2 separate regions of the Homo sapiens genome follow, and region 2 is linked to region 1. The links are contacts of gene promoters, found by promoter capture Hi-C in blood cells and fetal thymus (Javierre and others, 2016). All regions are on one chromosome and are shown on one strand. Each heading gives the region's core, a stretch centred on a gene start or on the middle of the fragment in contact. The rest is flanking DNA. Distances are from core to core; before and after follow the strand shown.

Region 1 (4,183 bases), core at 728-3,227:
AAAAACCCTTAACAGGAAACAGCAACATCCTGCATCCCATTTTAAATCTGTTATTTTTATAGATTGCTGTCCAGTGAAGGAGACTGATTGCTATTTGTGATGTTTCTGTTCCACTTGTCTTTTTGTAAAGACATCACAGGAAGATGGAGGACCACACAGCTGTCAGGAGGAGGCTCAAACCAAGGTGCTCATCGCTCTGAACTTCCCCCTTTACATGGTTTCTGCCTTGGCCAGACACTTTTCCATGACCTTCTAATCTCCCTCTGATCTCACCATTCTTGCCATCTCTGCAACACTCATGGCTGTTTATACTTCATTTCCGTCTATTGTAATGGTTATGAGGAATCAGACTTGTCAGAGAATTCTGTAGGAGATGATATGTACATGGAAATCCTAGAGGCCATGACTTGGAAGAAGGATCTAATCAGGCCCTTAACTGTATCACTGACAACAGTAAAAATAACTGTAGATTTTAGAAAAATGAAATTTTTATTCTCAATTCTCCTCATTTCTTCTTTGATTTTGAAACAAAATGAAAGGGTAACATGAAAAACAGGCTAGAAACTGGAGCTTATTGCTCTCTAAGCAATGCAAATCACATCATTTTAATAAACTACAGAAGTCAAAACCGAGTTTTCATATTTTGCATGGGAAGTATCACATTTTTAAAAATTACTGCAGATAATCAAGTTTTCTTTGCCAATATGCTATGTTTTTGATAAAAGGAAGTAGAAAATAGCTATAGTTTGAAAATAATATATTTTAAAAAGAGGTGAGCCTGTATATTTTTTAGGCAAGCACTTTTCTTAGGGGAATTAGCTAAATTATTATCTCAATTTTCTATGTAGTTTAGCCTCTCAACACCGGTAGTAAAGTAGTCAAAAACCTACCTTTATATTTCTGGATACTTTGGTTTTTTTGATGCCAGACTAGCTTTCTGGAAACGTGTCAGTTGGCTACCAGGATCGGTGGCAAATTCCACTGCCAGGCTAGATTGGGGCAGGTGGGGAGAGAGAGGCACTATGTCTCTATCAGAAAGTCACTGAAGAAACACTGTTTTTGGACGAGTTCAAGCCTCATCTAGATTTTTAGTCCAGTAGAAGATCGCGACCACCTCTGCCCCTCCATAGCCTACAGCCAGAGTTTTAGAGTACCAGGCCTTGCAGCTTGGTGGAGATGATGTACAATGGATGCTACCTGGAGGCAGGGACTGTGTATTATAATGGCGCCGTCCCCTGTGCCTAGTACACCGTAGTTTGACACAAAATAAGCACTTTGTAAATTTAGTCCGAAGGAATGGAAATCTCATCCTACAATCCATTCAGTTATTAATAGAGCAACTGAGGCCCAGAGACGGGCAGTGGCCTGCCTGCCTACAGCTTCGTAGAGAGTTCTCAGCATGCTTACTTTTTTTTTTTGAGATGGAGTCTTGCTCTGTCGCCCAGGCTGGAGTGCAGTGGCGCGATCTTGGCCCACTGCAGCTTCCATCTCCTGGGTTCAAGTGGTTCTCCTGCCTCAGCCTCCCGAGTAGCTGGGACTACAGGCAGCCACCACCACGCCCAGATAATTTTTGTATTTTTAGTAGAGATGGGGCTTCACCATGTTGGCCAGGGTGGTCTCGAACTCCTGGCTTCAGGTGATCCACCCGCCTTGGCCTCTCAAAGTGTTGGGATTACAGGTGTGAGCCACCATGCCTGGCCCAGTGTTCTTTTCATGAAAATAAAATTTCTTTTTTTATATAGCATATGAGCTCATAACTGGCACTGTATAGCACCTGAGCATGTTTTGATTTGGTCTTTCTTGTTGAGGGGCCTTGTTACGTTATACCCTGGTGTCTAGACTTTGGCCCAAAACCTTTGAGATGGAGAGCCGGTGTCTGTGGTACTGTTTGCAATCTCTGGTTCTACACTCAGGGTTCATTCATGTAGATGCAAATACAGATGGTATCATAACTTCCAACCTCTCTGTTCCTCATCACAGCTGTTCAGTCTCGCTTGAAGACAGATTACGGAAGGACGAGGCCAAATCCAGATTTTGTGGTGTGAAAATTTACCCTGGTGTGTTATCACTACCAGGGGATCTGACCTCAGCCAGGAGCAGTGAGAGCCTCCTCTCCCCAGCCATGCTGAGCGCTGGCCTAGGACTGCTGATGCTGGTGGCAGTGGTTGAATTTCTCATCGGTTTAATTGGAAATGGAAGCCTGGTGGTCTGGAGTTTTAGAGAATGGATCAGAAAATTCAACTGGTCCTCATATAACCTCATTATCCTGGGCCTGGCTGGCTGCCGATTTCTCCTGCAGTGGCTGATCATTTTGGACTTAAGCTTGTTTCCACTTTTCCAGAGCAGCCGTTGGCTTCGCTATCTTAGTATCTTCTGGGTCCTGGTAAGCCAGGCCAGCTTATGGTTTGCCACCTTCCTCAGTGTCTTCTATTGCAAGAAGATCACGACCTTCGATCGCCCGGCCTACTTGTGGCTGAAGCAGAGGGCCTATAACCTGAGTCTCTGGTGCCTTCTGGGCTACTTTATAATCAATTTGTTACTTACAGTCCAAATTGGCTTAACATTCTATCATCCTCCCCAAGGAAACAGCAGCATTCGGTATCCCTTTGAAAGCTGGCAGTACCTGTATGCATTTCAGCTCAATTCAGGAAGTTATTTGCCTTTAGTGGTGTTTCTTGTTTCCTCTGGGATGCTGATTGTCTCTTTGTATACACACCACAAGAAGATGAAGGTCCATTCAGCTGGTAGGAGGGATGTCCGGGCCAAGGCTCACATCACTGCGCTGAAGTCCTTGGGCTGCTTCCTCTTACTTCACCTGGTTTATATCATGGCCAGCCCCTTCTCCATCACCTCCAAGACTTATCCTCCTGATCTCACCAGTGTCTTCATCTGGGAGACACTCATGGCAGCCTATCCTTCTCTTCATTCTCTCATATTGATCATGGGGATTCCTAGGGTGAAGCAGACTTGTCAGAAGATCCTGTGGAAGACAGTGTGTGCTCGGAGATGCTGGGGCCCATGATCTGGGAAGAAAAGTGTGGTCAGGACACTCTTGGGACGCTCTTTTGATAGCTCTCTATAAGGGAGCTGCTTTCCATGTCTTTTAAGATTTTCCTTCTTTTACACCAATGTAATGAATGAGCAACAGAAAATACGGATCAAAACCCAATACTATGTCTCTTTTGGCAATGCAAAGTATATTTTTTTAATGTACCACAGAAATCAAGGCTAGGGCTTCATGTTTGGTAAAAGAGGTATTATATTCTCTCTACATATAGCAAATAATTCATATATAAATCGTGTTTTTCCTATTATAAAAAGCAGAGATTAGGAACAATTCTGTCTACATATAGCAAAAATTCATATATAAATTGTGTTTTTCCTAGTATAGAAAACAGAGATTAGGAACAATTATAGTGATCATTAATTTTTATGAAATTTTACCTATACATTAATGTTAGTCATTTTAGATATGCTTTTTAAAAAGTATCAAATAATTTCCCCATTTCTCTGCTGTAATGTATCTAATTATCTAACTGAAAAACAAAACAAAACATCTTTATATTTCTGGAAGTTTCTTTGAGCCCTAGCCTTGGCTTTCAGAATAAAAATCAGGCTCACGCCTGTAATCCCAGCGCTTTGGGAGGCTGAGGCGGGCGGATCACGAGGTCAAGAGATCAAGACCAAATTAGCCGGGCGCGGTGGCGGGCGCCTGTAGTCCCAGCTACTCGGGAGGCTGAGGCAGGAGAATGGCGTGAACCCGGGAAGCGGAGCTTGCAGTGAGCCGAGATTGCGCCACTGCAGTCCGCAGTCCGGCCTGGGCGACAGAGCGGGACTCCGTCTCAAAAAAAAAAAAAAAAAGAGATCAAGACCATCCTGGCTAACATGATTAAACCCCATCTCTACTAAAAATACAAAAAATTAGCCTGGTGTGTTGGCGGGCACCTGTAGTCCCAGCTACTCGGGAGGCTGAGGCGGGAGAATGGCATGAACCCAGGAGGTGGAGATGGCAGTGAGCCGAGACCATGCCACTGCACTCCAGCCTGGGCAACAGAGCGAGATGCCGTCTCAAAAAAAAAAAAAAAAGCAGAATAAAAGTCAGTTGGATGCCATGATCTGTATTAAGCTCCAAGGCCCAGGAACTGAAGTGGGGCAATATGAGAATGAGGGGCACTTGATTCTG
Region 2 (4,381 bases), core at 1,482-3,981, 220 kb after region 1:
AGCTAAAAACAAACGAGTTTGTAATGTGTATAATATGTAATGTGCATGTGTGTAATGTTCCAGTAATACTTTGTTTGTAAAACAGGCTTTGACTTAATTTGGCCTGAAGGCCATAGTTACTGACCCCTAGACTAAAGGAAGGGTGGTCCCCACCTTCATGAGCTTCTAGTCTAAAGGCGGAGTCCTTGCTCTTATACATACTATCTTGTAGGGGAGGGAGTTGGGAGTAGAAGGAGATGATATAGAGATACACAAAGGTAAATACAGTCAGCAGGAACAAAGTGACATTTTATAAAGTGAATGCATAAATTTTGAGGTCATCAGAGTGAAGCCTACTCAGTAGTGGAGTTAATTGGAGGTGTTGAGAACTATTGAATGTCTGTGAAATTAAATTTGTCTAATGGTCTTTTTATGTTTGCTTTTGGTATAGCCCCAGATCCTGGGACAACTGGTACCCCAGATCCTGGGACAACTGGTACCCCAGATCCTGGAACAACTGGTACCACACATGCTAGGACAACGGGTCCCCCAGATCCTGGAACAACTGGTACCACTCCTGTTTCTGCTGAATGTCCAGTGGTAAATGAATTGGAACGAATTAATTGCATCCCTGACCAGCCGCCAACAAAGGTTTGAGTTATGAATTTTGTTTCCATTTTAGAATTTATGCAACTTGATAGTTTATTTTTTTTTGTTGTTTTGTTTTGGTTTTCTTTATTAGTGACTCTCAAGAGAGGTGTTTATGTTGCAGCCATTAGTGGCTCAGGCAAATTAACCTGTGTCCATGCTTGTATGACAGTGCAGCTTCAGGAAAGGAAGACCTGGAAAATTCCCTTGGGTTGCCAGATTCAGCAAATAAAAGTGCGGTTGCCCAGCCAAATTCAAATTTCAGAAAAACAATGAATAAGCTTTTAGTATAAGTGTGTCCCGTGAAAGATTTTGGGCTTACTTACTAAAAACGTATTTGTCTTTTATATGGCAACACTACATGATTACTAGTTCTTTCTGACTCTGTTCATGCCCTGTATGTCTCTCCTCCTTTCAGAATTTCCAAAGCTCATCTAGAATCTGCAGTAAAAATTCACAAAACATTATTTAAAATAAGGGCAAAGTTTCAAGAGCTCTGTTTTGGAAGGAAGAAGGTAATGAATACCAGATTAAAGACAGTGCAGACATCTGGGCATTTACCTTAGCCCAGTGTTTCTAGATTATCGGCTGAAGTCCACCTGATTATGATGATTATAAAGTACTTGCCCACACCCTATGTTTGATGTGCCAAATTTACAGAAAGTTGATGCACATGCATTTACTTTCCCTGTCATATTGTGCAAGTTACTCAATAGCTCAATTGAGCTGTACTCAATAGCTCACTCAAGCTGTACTCAATAGCTCACTCATTACTTGGAAGCTCACCTAGATTATCACATTCTCAGTATGTCACACTACTGCAACACTCCATCTTGTCACTGGGTATTGGTGCACTTCAGATACAGCCATAGTAATGTTTCTTTGGTGCTTTATTGTAAGATCTTTTGATAAATACTGTGGTATCAAGATTGAAGTTCAATAAATGAACTTTGGCTTTTCTACATGTCATATCTAACTGAATTACTCCACGGCCTTGGCGTTTATTAATTGGCATTCTCCTTTTTTGCTCAGCCAGAGAGAAATACTGGCACTTTCAATGATTCATTTTCTTGTAGAAGATACATCTTAGAACTTTTGTTGTATGTTTTCTGAATCCTGAGAGCGGTATGCTGATCCAGATTGTTGTTGAGAGCTGAGGCTATGGATAATGATGTGTTTGTATGGTGTTCACATTAAAGGGAATGTAGCTGAAAGAGGATGGTGGGAAGAAGTTATGAACACAACAGATAGGCTAGGCAGAATGTTCTGGTGTCGAAACCATTGCTATATAATTTTATCATTCTTATCATCTGTCCTCCAAGATTATATGTAAAAGAACTAAAAGAATAACTTTCTCTGCAGATGATTCTTGGTTGTAAATACCATTGTTTGATTCTCCCAGTTATGAGAGGGAATCCTTTTCCAGTACAGGAGGAAGTACTGTATCAAGCCACCCTGACACCCTGAGTACTCTTGGGAGACTCTTCTTTGGAGAGAATGGACTCTAGGAGTCCCCTTCATGGATCTTAGAAAAAAAGATCACTCGATTATCTAACTCTAGTTCGGATCTTTAGTTCTGGGCTTGAAGCTGGTTGGAGGGCATCTTCACTGAATTCCTTCCTATCATATCAGCTGAACTCGTTACCTCCTCACCAAATCTGCTTTTCCTTCTCAGCTACCAGATTTCTGCTAGTAGTTCTATTAAGCTTCTAGTTCTTGAGACAGAAACAGCAGAACTTCTGCTTGGCTCATCCCTTCTATCCCTTTGGCCAGTATTCCATGTATTTTAAAATATTTTCCTTAACAATAATTTCCAGAAGAGGCATTTCATTTCCATTCTTGCAGCCATCCCTAGATCATCATTTCCTCATGCTTGGGTTGCTCCAGGTGCCCCTTGGCATCCCTTCTGAATTCCATTTCTCCTATCCATTCCGTTACATGTGGGATTAGAATTTCTCTTTTTTACATCCAACTTTTGTTATTATTTCTACCCAACTTCAGTACATATAGTGGTTTATTACTGTACGTTGAGCCAAGTTCAAACACTGTCTTCTATCATCTAAGACCCTACCTCTGTGCCTCTATAGGTTCACTTAGGCTATACTTCTATGCAGATTTTAAAGACAACTGTCTACACTTATTCCAAACCTTTGAATTCTAAAATCCTTTCCACTTTCTTGATGAAGTCTTTTATCCCCAATTCCAGAACGCAGAGTTGAAAGATCCCATTGATGGCAGGGAGCAGGAATATTTCATCAAATTCCAGATATCCAGCTTAGGAAAGAAATGATAGTTAATACTTTTAAATCCTTTGATTTTTCAGGGCTATAAAGCACTGTGTAAACATGGGAGGGCAGGTTACGTGCTTAAAGATAAACCCGCATGCCCTAAGTAAATGTTGCAGAGTAATTAAGCTGAGAGAAATTCACAGTTGATTTCCAAGGATAACAATAACATAAGTGGTAATCTCAATAATTTGAGAGGTTACCATATTTCTTAAACAGAAGCTTTGTCATCTTTTACAGCGAACACACTTGGTAATTGTCTATGTATTACTCATTTATTTGGCTTATGATATCCTTTTCCAAATTCCAGTTTATTATCAATATGTTGGGGATCATGTTTTATGATATAGCAGCAAGGGTATTGCATTTTGCCAAGATCATTGTGAGTCTTCACCTTTAAATTACTCTGTGTTTACACAACATCAGTTAATAGCCATTATATGGTGCTAGGAAGAGCAGTGAGCCCAGATAAAAACTTAAAGTCTTAAAAGACTTAAGTTTATGTTTGGCACCTTGAAATGATAATGTAGCCATTGGTCAAGTGAAAGGATGTAAGGGGAGCCAGGTTATTGAGTTACTCAGTCCTGGCTTTGCTTCTGGAAAGCTCTTTGACTTGATCAGTAAGTCACATTTTCTTATAAACTGTGAAATCCTTCTAAGTAAAATGAGACAGTATGTGTTCAGCTAAACATACTCATTAAACGTTCGATTAAATGACTATTGAACACTATACTAACCTCAAAATATTTTAGAATAGTGATCTCTAAGGTTCTGGCAAATGTTTCTCTGAATATTCACCACAGTCTGATTTGGGGGACTAGAAAGACTGGATTATGGGAATGGCAGAGGTGGCAACTTTGTTTTAAAAAGTCTTTGCTGTTAGACTTCACTTTGAGGTTAAATGAAGTGGCCAGCCTAACAAGCTAAATTTCAAAACCTGACTCAAGATGCACATATTATAAAATAGCCTACATTTAAGATATTTCACAGAGTCGAGACTAATTTTATTCATTCGTTAGTTCAAACTTGCTGCACATAAAAACAGCTAGAGAACATTTTGATGAATAGAGGGTGATTTGAAATTCCTTTATCATCAAGTGCTTTCAACTTCTAAAATTCCTGCTCTATTTGAAGATGGGATACTTTGTCTCATTCTACTCATTTTCTTCATGTGGAGACTTTCTGGTTCCACCTTTTTTGTTCACAACATCAGGTTCTTTTGTGCTGCTATAACATAATGCCCAAGACTGAGTAATTTATCAAACACAGAAATTTACTTATCATAGTTATGGATGGAGACTAGAAAGAACAAGACCAAGGTGCTGGCATCTTGTGAGGACCTTCTTGCTGCATCCTCACATGGCAGCACGTAGACAGCAAGAGACAGCCCACTGTCTCCTTTATAAGGGCACCTAATTCCCTTTGTCTGGGAGGAGGCTTCATGGCCTAATCACCTCTTAAAGGCCCCA

What was found. The method cuts DNA at HindIII sites, captures the fragments that hold promoters and counts their contacts. A CHiCAGO score of 5 or more calls a contact.
Region 2: a contact is called between a fragment that was not itself captured here and the fragment with the promoter of TAS2R5 in region 1, in 1 of 17 cell types (monocytes). The highest score is 5.3, in monocytes.

What each region holds. Positions count from the first base shown.
Region 1 is chr7:141,788,240-141,792,422 of GRCh38, forward strand. TAS2R5 (taste 2 receptor member 5) reads left to right here and starts at 1,978. Exons shown (of 1, transcript NM_018980.3): 1 at 1,978-3,128. The coding sequence starts at 2,123. The coding sequence ends at 3,022. It also overlaps the pseudogene TAS2R6P. The HindIII fragment of the contact is 7,447 bases long and covers 1-2,320 here.
Region 2 is chr7:142,008,076-142,012,456 of GRCh38, forward strand. MGAM (maltase-glucoamylase) reads left to right here. Exons shown (of 71, transcript NM_001365693.1): 3 at 431-630. Among named protein-coding and RNA genes, the nearest start is that of MGAM, 14 kb to the left of the region's middle. The HindIII fragment of the contact is 801 bases long and covers 2,332-3,132 here.